Linked DNA regions of Homo sapiens: region 1 is linked to region 2. Evidence: promoter capture Hi-C in 16 types of primary human blood cells and fetal thymus (Javierre and others, 2016). All regions are on one chromosome and are shown on one strand. Each heading gives the region's core, a stretch centred on a gene start or on the middle of the fragment in contact. The rest is flanking DNA. Distances are from core to core; before and after follow the strand shown. Region 1 overlaps LRRC8C (leucine rich repeat containing 8 VRAC subunit C). Region 2 holds the start of ZNF326 (zinc finger protein 326).

Region 1 (6,675 bases), core at 2,986-5,485, 290 kb before region 2:
TGAAGCATAAACTTAACTGCCTTATATTGGCCACTTGCCTTTTTGTGGCTCCACTCTACCTGTTTGGATCAAATCTGTCATAACCAAGTTAAAGTACTGTCTTTTTAAAGAATAAGACACAATCTAAAGACTACATCTGGATCACAAGTTAACATATTGGAATGGTACCACCTATTTTATCATACACTGCAAATTTTCTTACTTCCTCTTCCTATAACAATATAATCATAGCTGTGTTTTAAAGTCCAAGCTGGTAGCTCATGCCTGTAATCCCAGCATTTTGGGGGTCCAAGGCAGGAGGATCACTTGAGCCCAGGAGTTCAAGACTAGCCTAGGCAATACAGTGAGAACCCATCTCTATAAAAAATAAAAATAGAAAACAGGTTCAAGCTGGAGAAATAATTTGGGGATTATAGTTCATAGAAAAAGAACAATGGGGCCAGGCGCGGTGGCTCATGCCTGTAATCCCAGCACTTTGGGAGGCCGAGGCAGGCGGATCACGAGGTCAGGAGATTGAGACCATCCTGGCTAACACGGTGAAACCCTGTCTCTACTAAAACTACAAAAAATTAGCCGGGCGTGGTGGTGGGCACCTGTAGTCCCAGCTACTTGGGAGACTGAGGCAGGAGAATGGCGTGAACCTGGGAGGCGGAACTTGCAGTGAGCCAAGATCGCACCACTGCACTCCACTCCAGCCTGGGTGGCAGAGTGAGACTCCATCTCAAAAAAAAAAAAAGAAAGAAAGAAAAAGAACAATGGACTTTATTGTCGAGGATATAGGAAAGTAAGTATTTTCATATGCTGTTGGTGGAACATGTGTAAAGAAATTCGGCCTTTCTGGTGGGGAGGGAATTTGACATATAAGTTTACCTTGTGTGGCACTACCCAAGCAACACAATTTTTCATAATAATTTGTCTCGACTAATTTTTGTATTATGATACACACATCTGCGAAAGATGGTAAAACAGGTGTTACAATTCAAAACAGTCCTGTGTTCAATGTGTATAGTCATGATAGATATAAAAAGATAACAAAAATGCATACACAGACCCCAAAGCAAGATGAGCGTTTCTGTGGAGCACAAATGGAACGCTGAATGGGTCTGAATCAATTGCTGGGCTCTTATCCAAAACTAAGCAGTAGCAGCCAGGAGCTCAGCTCCTGCTAGTAAAGGGAACCATAAATGCACCAAGCAAGATAAGAGACTGGAGCCTGGTCACTGTTTCAAGCCAAAAGTCCTCACTCCCAAAAAGAAGCTGAAAAAATATAGCGATTAACTGGATGCTGGAGCCAGTACTTCAGAGGAAAGTGTGCATCTGAGGTGCCTGCCGACCAGAAACTGAGTCAGCCTGTCCACTGTCTTGCAGACTGACTCTGTGAGGCCTGACATCACAGTGGAACATCCAAATACCATGATAAGACCTATTGGTGGACTCTGGGGGGCTGGGGGCTGGGTGCAGAAAACCACAAAAGTACACTCAAGAGAAGCAGTGGAAAACATACACCTACTCAGGATGCGTCTACCACCCAGAACACATGAAAAAAACTATGTTAAGAAAGACTATTAACAAAATTAACAGTTGGAACACAGATTCATGCAAGATGAAATTAAGTTTTAACCAGATGACAATGAATTTAAAATAAATATACAGAGAGTGGTTAAAAAGATCAAGACATAACATTTAAAAAGTAGGGGCCGGGTACCGTGGTGAACACCTGTAATCCCTGCACTTTGGGAGGCCGAGGCAGGCGGATCACTTGAGCCCAGGAGTTCAAAACCAGCCTGGGCAACATGGCAAGACCCTATCTCTAAAAAAATAAAAATTAAAAAATAAAAAATAAATTTTTTTTTCATTAGCCAGGCATGGTGGCACACACCTGTAGTCCCAGCTACATGGCAGGCTGAGGTGGGAGGATCACTTGATCCCAGGATTTTTGAAGCTACTGTGAGCCATGATCATGCTACTGCACTCCAGCCTGGGCAACACAGCAAGACCCTGTCTCAATCAATCAATCAATAAAGTAGGTAGATATGACTTAAGAGCTGATATAACAAATTTAGAAATCTTGGAAATAAAGTCAATGAATTATAAAATATCAACAGATAGAATAACTGGACTGTACTCAGTAGCATAAAGAAGTAATGAATTAAACAAGAGTTCTCAGTTTACCCAGAGCCCAGCACAGAGAAAGACAGGAATCAAAACACACGCTCATGAAAGACAGACTGAGAGACACTGACATACATCTCAGAGGAGTTGTAGAAGAAAATGGAAGAAAGGATGGAGCAATATTTGAAGAAATATTTGCTTTAATTTCCCAAAATTAAAGAAAGTCAAGTCCTTAGCTCCAGATATGGAGTAGGATTAATCCACATACATTCAAAATTAAAGTGAACCTGCAGAAAATCCTGAGACTAAAGGTAAAATCTTAAAAGCTACCTTAAAGATAGATTGCGCACTAAATAACACAAACTGACAGCAAGCTTCTCATCAGAAAAAATATAAGCCAGGGAAAATGGAATAATATTTTTAAATGCTGAGAGGAAATTACTATCAAAACAGAATTGTATAACTTACCAAATAGTTACTGAAGAATGAAAGCAATATAGGAATTGTCAGTCTTACAGGATATATGAGTTTCCTATCCACAGACTTTTATTAAGAGTTATTAAGGTGTATACTTCAACCAAAAGGAAAATGAACCCAGGGAGAAGTTATAGGATCTAAGAAAACTAGTGACTCATAATTTAATAAATATATAAACAAACACAATCAAGTACAGATTGTAAAAAAAAAAAAAAAAGTTTCAAAAGAAAGCAAAAACAAACTCTGGGAACAACAAATTGGTATAGTTCAGTGGGTAGTTACAACATATTCTTGGAAGTGGTGTGGAGATACTAAAAATTTTAACTGTACATTTTAAGAAATTATAGATAACATCTAGAAGAACAGAAATACAGTCGCTATCTTCCTAACCAGCTGAGAAGGGGTTGGGTGGGAAATAGGAGATAGAGAAAAAATGAGCAGTGCAGCAGAAGGCAGGAAGGAGAAGGGAAAAGTATAAATGAAAATGAAAAATCTAGAAATAAGTCCAAATATCCAAATATGAGTGAGCAAAATAATGGATTAAGTTCACTTATAAAAAGAAAAGGGTGATTAGTTTGGATTTTTAAAAATTCAAAAGGCAGAAACCTAAAAAAATTATAAGAGTAAAAATAGAGATTAAAAGATAATATAACACAAATACCCAAAAAAGCTGGTAGCGTAATGTTAATATTAGATAGCATTTAGCCCTCCCATCTTCAAGAATACACTCTTTATCTAAACAAGGTATATATTTGAGTTTTCTAATATGCACAGGTTCTTGTAACCACCACTACAAACAGGATACAGAAGAATCTCAACACCCCAAAGAATTCCTGGTGCTGACCTTTGCAATGAACCCGCCAACCTCAGCCTTTAACCTCTGATCTGTTCTATGTCCTCATCTCTCTGTCCTATTTTTCAGAATGCCATGTAAAATCAGATAGTATGTAACCTTTTGAGACTAACACACTTTTTAGTAGCAAAACTCCCTACATGCATGTCATCATGGGAATGTCTTCAGTAAATTATAGCACATCCACAATATGTAATTCCATGGCACTTAGAATGAAGTAGATCTCCAGGTGCCAATCTATTAACATCTCCAAGACATACCATGAAAGAGAAAAACTCAAGGTGCAGGAACAATACATATAGTAAGATCTTATTTGTTTATGTATTATATACATGTAAATGCACAGATACAGATCTGGAATGGTATACACCAAACTTATCAGGGCTCATGAAGGAATGGCAATGGGGATAGGAAAAGGGAAAGGGAGGACTCTACCTTCTGTGTTAAAAATAAATGTTTTGCACATGAAAAAATGCTCACCATCACTGGCCATCAGAGAAATGCAAATCAAAACCACAATGAGATACCATCTCACACCAGTTAGAATGGCGATCATTAAAAAGTCAGGAAACAACAGGTACTGGAGAGGATGTGGAGAAACAGGAACACTTTTATGCTATTGGTGGGACTGTAAACTAGTTCAACCATTGTGGAAGTCAGTGTGGCGATTCCTCAGGGATCTAGAACTAGAAATACCATTTGACCCAACCATCCCATTACTGGGTATATACCCAAAGGACTATAAATCATGCTGCTATAAAGACACATGCACACGTATGTTTATTGTGGCACTATTCACAATAGCAAAGACTTGGAACCAACCCAAATGTCCAACAATGATAGACTGGATTAAGAAAATGTGGCACATATACACCATGGAATACTATGCAGCCATGAAAAATGATGAGTTCATGTCCTTTATAGGGACATGGATGAAATTGGAAATCATCATTCTCAGTAAACTATCACAAGAACAAAAAACCAAACACCGCATATTCTCACTCATAGGTGGGAATTGAACAGTGAGAACACATGGACACAGGAAGGGGAACATCACACTCTGGGGACTGTTGTGGGGTGGGGGGAGGGGGGAGGGATAGCATTGAGAGATATACCTAATACTAGATGACGAGTTAGTGGGTGCAGCGCACCAGCATGGCACATGTATACATATGTAACTAACCTGCACATTGTGCACATGTACCCTAAAACTTAAAGTATAATAATAATAATAAAGAAATTTAGGGATTAACCAAAAATAAAATAAAATAAAATAAAATAAATAAATAAATGTTTTGGCCGGGTGCAGTGGCTCATGCCTGTAATCCCAGCACTTTGGGAGACTGAGGTGGGTGGATCGTTTTGAGCACAGGAGTTCGAGACCAGCCTGGGCAACATGGTAAAACCCCATCTCTACAAAAAAATACAAAAATTAGCCAGGCATGGTGGTGCAGGCCCGTGGTCCCAGCCACTCAGGAGGCTGAGGCTGGAAAATTCTTTAACCCGGGAGGTGGAGGTTGCAGTGAGCCAAGATCACGCCACTGCACCCCAGCCTGGCAACAGAGCAAGACCCTGTCTCAAAAATAAATAAATAAATGGTTTTTTTAAAAGACAGATTTATGGTAGCAAAAAAATAAAATACATAGACAGACATAACTTAATAATGCACAAAATCTATGTGAGAAAACTGTAAAACACTCTTGAAAGGCACAAAATTAGATGCAAACAAGTGAAAACACACACCATAAGGAGGAAGAATCAACATCATGTCAGTTCTTAACTTATAAAGTGATCCCAATAAAAATACTACTAGGGTTGTTTTTCCTGTATCTACGTAATCTGATGATAAAGTTTATCGTGAAAGACAAGCACAAATTTGAGCACTTATCACACTAATTACTGATTTATATGTCTCATTCCTGTGCTTGACTTTGAAGGGCTTTTTGTTCTTGTTGGTATCCCAAATATAACAACTGACATATAGTAGATACTACTGCAGAATGACTTTTCCTGAGGCACACTCAGAATTCAGCATTTATGTTCTACATGTCTGGCATGTAATAGATAAGCTGCCTTCGTTTATATGTTCTTTGTTATTTCAGGCAGTTTCTCTGAAGCTAAGTGGTTTTATTTTGTTTTAACCTCAGCCCTTTGGTGTCTCATTCATGCAAATGTGGTACCTTTTCAACTAGTTATCACAGGTGGGTTCTGCTTTTTCACTTCCATACTTTTCTGGCAACTGCCTAAATAAGTGTCATCCTGATGTGTCTTAATGATTCTAACAAAGGACTAAGACTTAAATAACATACATCATACAAAAATGTAGCCATAAATATTATGACTTAAAATAGTGAAAATTTCTATTAAAAGGCCCGAATTTCACGTTGACCATTCAAGGTATTTCAGTATGCAATAGAGCATGCACATACTCCACTTACAGTGCATCTCTAAATCTGATTGTTACCATTTAAAACATTTGATTTCTCTTCCTAGATTCGAACAGCATTTTCAGGCAGGTTTGGATGGGTTGTTTCTTTTTTAAGGAAGCTTGAATTTTGGCCTATGCTTCCCTTGAAACCCTTCCCCTCCCCCATAGAAAGCAAAAGCAAGAAATTCAGCTTATTTCATTGACCTTAGAATTGAGGAAGGATCTTCAAGATCCTCTTTTATCTTTTCAAAAATAGCTGTTGTGTTTTCTCAACATGATGATTTGCAGATCAGAATTGAAGAATCCAAATTTTAGTGAATCCATTTAACCAATTATTGCAACCCTTGGGTTTCTTTTCCATAAGTACTGCATAGATATTATCACAGTTGTGGAACAAGTTTATGTGTACATTTTTTTCTCCAAGGACTTTAATTGGGAAGCCTTGAGGAGTATTTTATACTCCTGGATGTCAGTCGTTCCTAAAGATCCAGAGGATAGGCCAGGCGCTGTGGCTCATGCCTGTAATCCCAGCACTTTGGGAGGCCGAGGCGGGTGGATCACTTGAGGTCAGGAGTTCAAGACCAGCCTGGCCAATATAGTGAAACCGCATCTCTACTAAAAATACAAAAATTAGTCGGGTGTGGTGGCACACACCTGTAGTCCCAGCTACTTGGGAGGCTGAGGCAGAAGAATCACTTGAACCCGGGAGGCGGAGGTTGCAGTGAGCTGAGATTGCGCCACTGCACTCCAGCCTGGACAACAGAGCAAGACTCCATCTAAAAAAAACAAAAACAAAAAAACAGAT
Region 2 (5,980 bases), core at 379-2,878:
TGCCTGTACCTCAGTACAAAGTCCCCTTTCCCTGAGAAATGTACAGAAGGAGAGATGAAGAGCGCGTATCCAAAAGGAAGAGGAAGAGGCTGGGTGCCCTGTGCCCCGAGCTCAGAACTTCGGGGGGATGACCGGCCAGTAATTAGGCTGCTTTGGATCACAGTGCTTGTCAAAGCTCAGCTGCACGTTAGCCTCCATGGCCTGGATCTTGGCGGCGCTGTCCCAGTACAAACGCTTCATTTCGGCCTGGCGCCGCTCACCAGGCCTCTCAGCTGGGGCCTCTACCGACCGGCGGGTGTTGCAGTACAGGTCGTGTTCAGCGTTCACGTAGCTGTTCAGGCGCTCCGCATCCAGCTGTTGCCGCCGCAGTAGTTCTTCTCTGTGCCTCTCTGTCTCTGCAAAGTACTGGCGGAGCTCTTCGGTGATTTCCATATTGCTCAGGTCACATGCTACCTCTGCATCTGACTCGGTCTCCATCTCTTCCTCCTTGGATAAGGCTTGGTCTTCTCTTGTGGATGCCTGGATCCTACTGCTGCCATGTGGATGTTGCCCAGACCCTCTGAAATGTGAAGAACTGCAGGGGGAGTCCTGCTAGGCCACATGATGGTCATAGAAGGACTGAGGATACGCAGCCTGGTTATCGTAAGAGCTTTGGGGAAGAAGCGCAGGAAGGAAGAACCATGGAAGACTGAAACAGGATTCCACCGCCTTCCTGTAGGCATTGTGGTGGCTTTGCATCCAAGCCATTGCTTGATGATAATGTTGCCAGTATCTTGCATATACTGGATGAGAATACCAAGGCCTGGTAGCTTTTGATGTTGATGCCTTCACCACTGCCATCTCCGATTGTGAAAGTCCAAATGGGTGCCGAAACTTGTGGGCGCGCAGCTTGCAGATCCTGGGCGGTGGCCAAGCAGGCCATGTTTTAGAATTCTTTCCAGGCGGGTCGCATTGGCTCACGCCTGTGATCCTAACACTTTGGGAGGCGGAGACGGGGCTGGGGGTGGGGGGATCGCTTGAGTCCAGGAGTTGGAGACCTGCTTGGGCAACATGGCAAAACCCCCATCTCTATAAAAATAATTTAAAAATTTTTTAAAAGAATTATTATTTCCATTTTATTTCAGTGCTTTGTCCTTTAAGAAAATTTATTGACATAGCGATAATCAGACTCCATACGCTATTTTGTATCTTGCTTTTCAAATTTGCCACAGGCTTCTAGAAACGTCCCAGACTTCTGTGTCTCCATGGAGGAAACCCCGTAAGTACTTACAAATGTTATGATTAGTCATCCCTAGCCAATACTAAGCAAAAGGTAGGCATGCGGTTTTATTAGTTTGGGCAGGAAGAAGGCATTCCAACCGGCTTCTTTCGCTCTTGCCAGGTTCAAACATGGCGGGCCGCAGCCGGCCCTTCCCGTACACTCGGCTTGCTTTCCCACAACCCCCGCCAATCTTTAGCGCTCCTTTTTTACCTTCCTTCCCCGTCAGCGGCTCCAGAGGGTCAGCACCTCCGAGCGTGACAGCGGACCTGCTTCCCGCCCCCCACGCGAGGGCCCGCCCACCAGCCCGCGTCAGCCAATAGCAGGCCGCGCCGATGGGGCTGGTAGCGCCGGTCGGCCCCGCCTCCCCAGCCTCGCTGTGGCCTGCGGCTCCCGGGCTGGTAGCGCGCCGCTCTCGGTCGCGCGGAGTGATCGTGTGGAATCGCGGGTCGCGGACGCTCGCCGCCGGCCATAGCTCAGCCTAGCGCCGCCAAGGCCGACGGCCCTCAGCCTCTGCCATGGACTTCGAGGACGGTAAGCGCTGCCTCTGGCTGGTCGGCGCAGCTGGCAGGAGGCGGGGTGGCCTACGCAGGGGGTCTGTTTACCGTCTCAAGATGGCCGTGTGGGCTTTGTTCTGCGGGCCCGGAGGCCGCCCGCCCGCCCCGGGCCCAGCGCCCGGAGTCGGCCTCTTTGGGGACCCACGCGCCCCGATTCGGCCCGCTCGGCGCCCGCTGCCGGCGGAGACAAGAGAACTCGGTGTCCGGTAGGACGCGCCTAGAGCGCGAGAGCCTCCGGGCTGGAGCCCCAGACTCGCCTTGGCCCCTGGTAGTGGAAATTGCCCCGACGTCTCCAACTTCCCGGTCTCGGGCAAACGGGCGAGTGCGGCCTCACCCACCTAGTCTCGCATTCGCCCCACAGGGCAGCGACCCAGACCGTCCGTTTAGTTAATCCTCAGCCTCGGGTTACTTCTTGCCAGATAGAATTTTCAGAGGCTTGTTCACAGTGATGTTTCTGTTTGTCCCGGTTTAAGATGAGTTGAAAGGGTGTCTGTAAGTGATATGTATAGATAAATATCTATGCAAAATGGAAAGCAAGATGTTTCCTGGTTAGTAAACTGGGGTGTTTATCACCAAAAATTACCTGCTTATTAATCCCTAACTTGAAATATTTATGTGAACCAAAGCACTTTTCTTTGGATCGTGTGTAGGTAGGATTTAAGTTAATCAGAATTTTGGCACAGCAAGCATCAAATGTCCTTCACATTTAGACCTGTACACAGCCTTGTAAGTGTTTGACTTACGGATTAAATAAACTGTATTTTAGCAATACTTTTCAGTTGTCTCAGATACTAATTCTTTAAACCACTTTTACAGGGTCACAAAGTAATATTAATTTGGTCTTCACTTTTGTTTTCAAACCTTGCTTGGAATTGGTGTCAAGATAAAGTGGTATGTAGTGACAACATTAGGGAGACATGGGAAAGGACTTATGTGATTAAACTGGATTTAATCCTGAGTAACCAGGCATGCTTAAGTAAAACCAGTTCACTAAGTAGGCTGTAAACTTTTAACCCCACCAAAAAAATGATCTTTAAATGAGGTGTGATCTCAGCATATGTCTTACTCGATGAGCTTTTGATTTTTCATAACATTTCATGCAACAAAGAATTAAAGCTTTCATATCTAGGTACAGATTTGTGAAAGGGGACTGGAATAGCCCTCTTGTAGATACTTTTCAGTTACTTTGAAATAGTAAGTTCAGCTCTTAAGAGTAGCACACTCTCGTGGTTTTGTTTGTTTTGGTTGGACTTTAACTCATTTTGATGTAGATACCTTTAAACTATGAATATTTGGGCTGGGCACGATGGCTCACACCTGTAATCTCAGCACTTTGGGAGGCGGAGGCAGAAGAATCCCTTGAACCCGGGAGGCGAAGGTTGCAGTGAGCCGAGATCGTGCCATTGCACTCTAGCCTGGGCAACAAGAGCCAAACTTCGTCTGAAAAAAAAAAAACAAAAAACCAACAACAAAACAAAAAACTATGAATATTTGAAGTGGCCAGAGTTGGGAGTGAAAATAAAAAATATATTATTGTATTTTCATGCTGTAGTTTGATGATAATGCCAACACCCAAGGTATAGCAGAGGCTAACAAAGTGGAGGTGGGGCAGTAGAAACAGTTCTTTCCACTCCCCACCCAAGGCAATAAGGGAATCCATTTCTATGGAGAATTGAAAAACAATAATAAAATGTAGTATGTCTGCTTTCTGTTATTGCCATATGCCAGAATTCTAAACAGTGTCAGTGATAGAAATTCTAAACAATATTAGTGATGAAATACGCCCTGTCTCACTGCCCAAATATACCACTGCTGTATTTGGAAGATGGAGTTTGACTAACACCATATATGAATCTATTCCTGTATAGTGTAGCAGGATTCTGTTGTATCCAGATGACCACTATATTAAATTCTGTTCTTTCAGTATATATTTGTAAAATTAACTAAAGAATTTAACAGTTGTTAAATTAGTTTTGATGAGGAAATTGGCAATATGGTTTTCAGTGATGACACATTCTGCTTGAATATAGAACACAGTCATATATGTATATGCATATGCATGTCTCAGATAAGATCTTGAAATCTTTTTTTTTTTGAGACAGAGTCTCGTTCTGTCGCCCAGGCTGGAGTGCAGTGGTGCAGTCTTGGCTCACTGCAGCCTCTGCCTCCTGGATTCAAGTGATTCTTCTGCCTCAGCCTCCCTAGTAGCTGGGACTACAGGCACGCACCACCAGGCCCGGCTAATTTTTATATTTCCAGTAGAGAAAGGGTTTCACCATATTGGACGGGCTGGTCTCGAACTCCTGACCTCGTGACCCGCCCACCTCACCTTCCCAAGTGCTGGGATTACAGGCGTGAGCCACCGTGCCCGGCCAAGATCTTGAAATCTTTAAAGAGCAAATTAAATGGTAAAAGAAATTAACTTAGCAAAAATTTCATGTTACGTACAATTCTCAGATGTCTTTGCTTTTGCATTATTTGATACATAATTTAATCTATCTGCCTTTGTGTTACTTGGTACAAATCAGTGCTGAATCCCCTCTTTTGGCTGTTATTATGTATCAGGTGTTGTAAACTAATGTTTACCATAATTTGGATAATAAACCTACCATTTGGGGAGATAGTGAAGAAAAAAGAGATACATTTTCTGGAATGGAGTATTGGTAATTATTTGTTTTAACTATTCTCAGTTTTGCAGATAATTGGGTTAATGTCATTTTAAAAATTGTGCTTGTTTTTTACTGGATCGGCATATAATTTTGAATTATTGCTAATATCACACTAATTCCTTTTTGTTAAATGTGTCTTCATAGATTACACACACTCCGCCTGCAGGAATACTTATCAGGGCTTTAATGGTAAGTATCCTCTTTCAGCTTTTCTCTTCATGCGCATAAAAATATAGTATCAATGTAAAAGGCCAGTTCTACCTATTTCAGTCCTTGTTTTGGTTCTTGATATATCATTTATGTGTTAATATTGTCTTACTATATATAGTATTTGAATTGGGGAATGTGCTATCAGAAAATGTTAGGGGTTATTCACATTAGTTTGATTTTTTTTTTGGTCCATTTTGTTTGAATTATGATTATTTTAATGTGTTCCAAAGGGCCTAACTACATTCTGAGTGATGAATCACAAGACACTGGCTGAGTTATTTTGGTTGAATTAGAGGCTTTGGTATTGAGTAATGTAGACTAAGTGGATTATTGGCTTGGTTCTATATAGCTTGTATTGTAATGCATTTTGACCTTGTTTTTGAGGTCATTTTCTTCAGTGTGTCCAAATGTGTTAGTATATAAAGAGCTGTCTAGAGGAGCACATGAAGAAGCTTGATTGTTTATTGACATGAGCATGACATTAGACTTGTGACTATAGAACTAGATAGAATCATGAGAGGTATGTAGAATACAATTGGATGTCATTTTGATAGTTATTAGAGTTAGGGCCCTGCCACACAAGATAATAATACAAAAAAAGAACACAGAACAATTAATGCAGGTTAAAAAACATATGAAGGACTTGAGGCATTAAATATCATGATTGCCAGAGAAATGTAAAATCCAACTTTCGTACAGAATAGAATATATTCACAAAGTAAAACTGAAGCAAATGTATACTAAAGACTATGCCATTTATGGGAATAATTACTGAACAGTTAATTTTTATTTCATTATCTTTAAAGATTAAGATAAACTTTGGATTTCATGTGGGCTAAAAAGGCTTAACATATAGGGAGTTAGTACTGAAGAATGTATTTGTGAGCTGGAAATTGAAAATTACCAAAGGAAGTTTAATTTGCATCCACATGTAAGTTATATTGAAAACTGGAAAATTAACGAGAAAGCCATTTCATAAGTTTTGATATAAAGATTTTAAGGCCTTGAACTTGGGAGGTGATAGTAGTAGTAATCTTAAAAATAAAGAGCAAATTAGCAGAACTTGCAGGCTGACTAGTAATGGGTAGAAAATTGAGAGGGTTGAATAAAAATGAATCCAGGATTTTAAACTGGAATGTATGACTAGTGCTTTTACAAGGGAGAGGGGGAGGGGAAGAGGGAGGGGGAGAGGGAGAGAGTTTGTAATGATAAAAGGCCATCTAGGATTTACTGGATAGTTGGATTTAATGTCTAAACATAGGACTTGAAATGCAGACTCATGCAGG

What was found. The method cuts DNA at HindIII sites, captures the fragments that hold promoters and counts their contacts. A CHiCAGO score of 5 or more calls a contact.
Region 1: a contact is called between a fragment that was not itself captured here and the fragment with the promoter of ZNF326 in region 2, in 2 of 17 cell types (erythroblasts and naive B cells). The highest score is 5.4, in erythroblasts.

The regions. Positions count from the first base shown.
Region 1 is chr1:89,700,758-89,707,432 of GRCh38, forward strand. The region is part of intron 2 of LRRC8C (leucine rich repeat containing 8 VRAC subunit C); the gene reads left to right. Among named protein-coding and RNA genes, the nearest start is that of LRRC8C, 71 kb to the left of the region's middle. The HindIII fragment of the contact is 3,503 bases long and covers 2,485-5,987 here.
Region 2 is chr1:89,993,482-89,999,461 of GRCh38, forward strand. ZNF326 (zinc finger protein 326) reads left to right here and starts at 1,629. Exons shown (of 12, transcript NM_182976.4): 1 at 1,629-1,792; 2 at 4,629-4,673. The coding sequence starts at 1,777. It also overlaps the pseudogene GEMIN8P4. RefSeq lists enhancers at 1,281-1,847, 1,848-2,413, 2,295-2,344 and a silencer at 1,435-2,074. The HindIII fragment of the contact is 7,808 bases long and covers 1-2,929 here.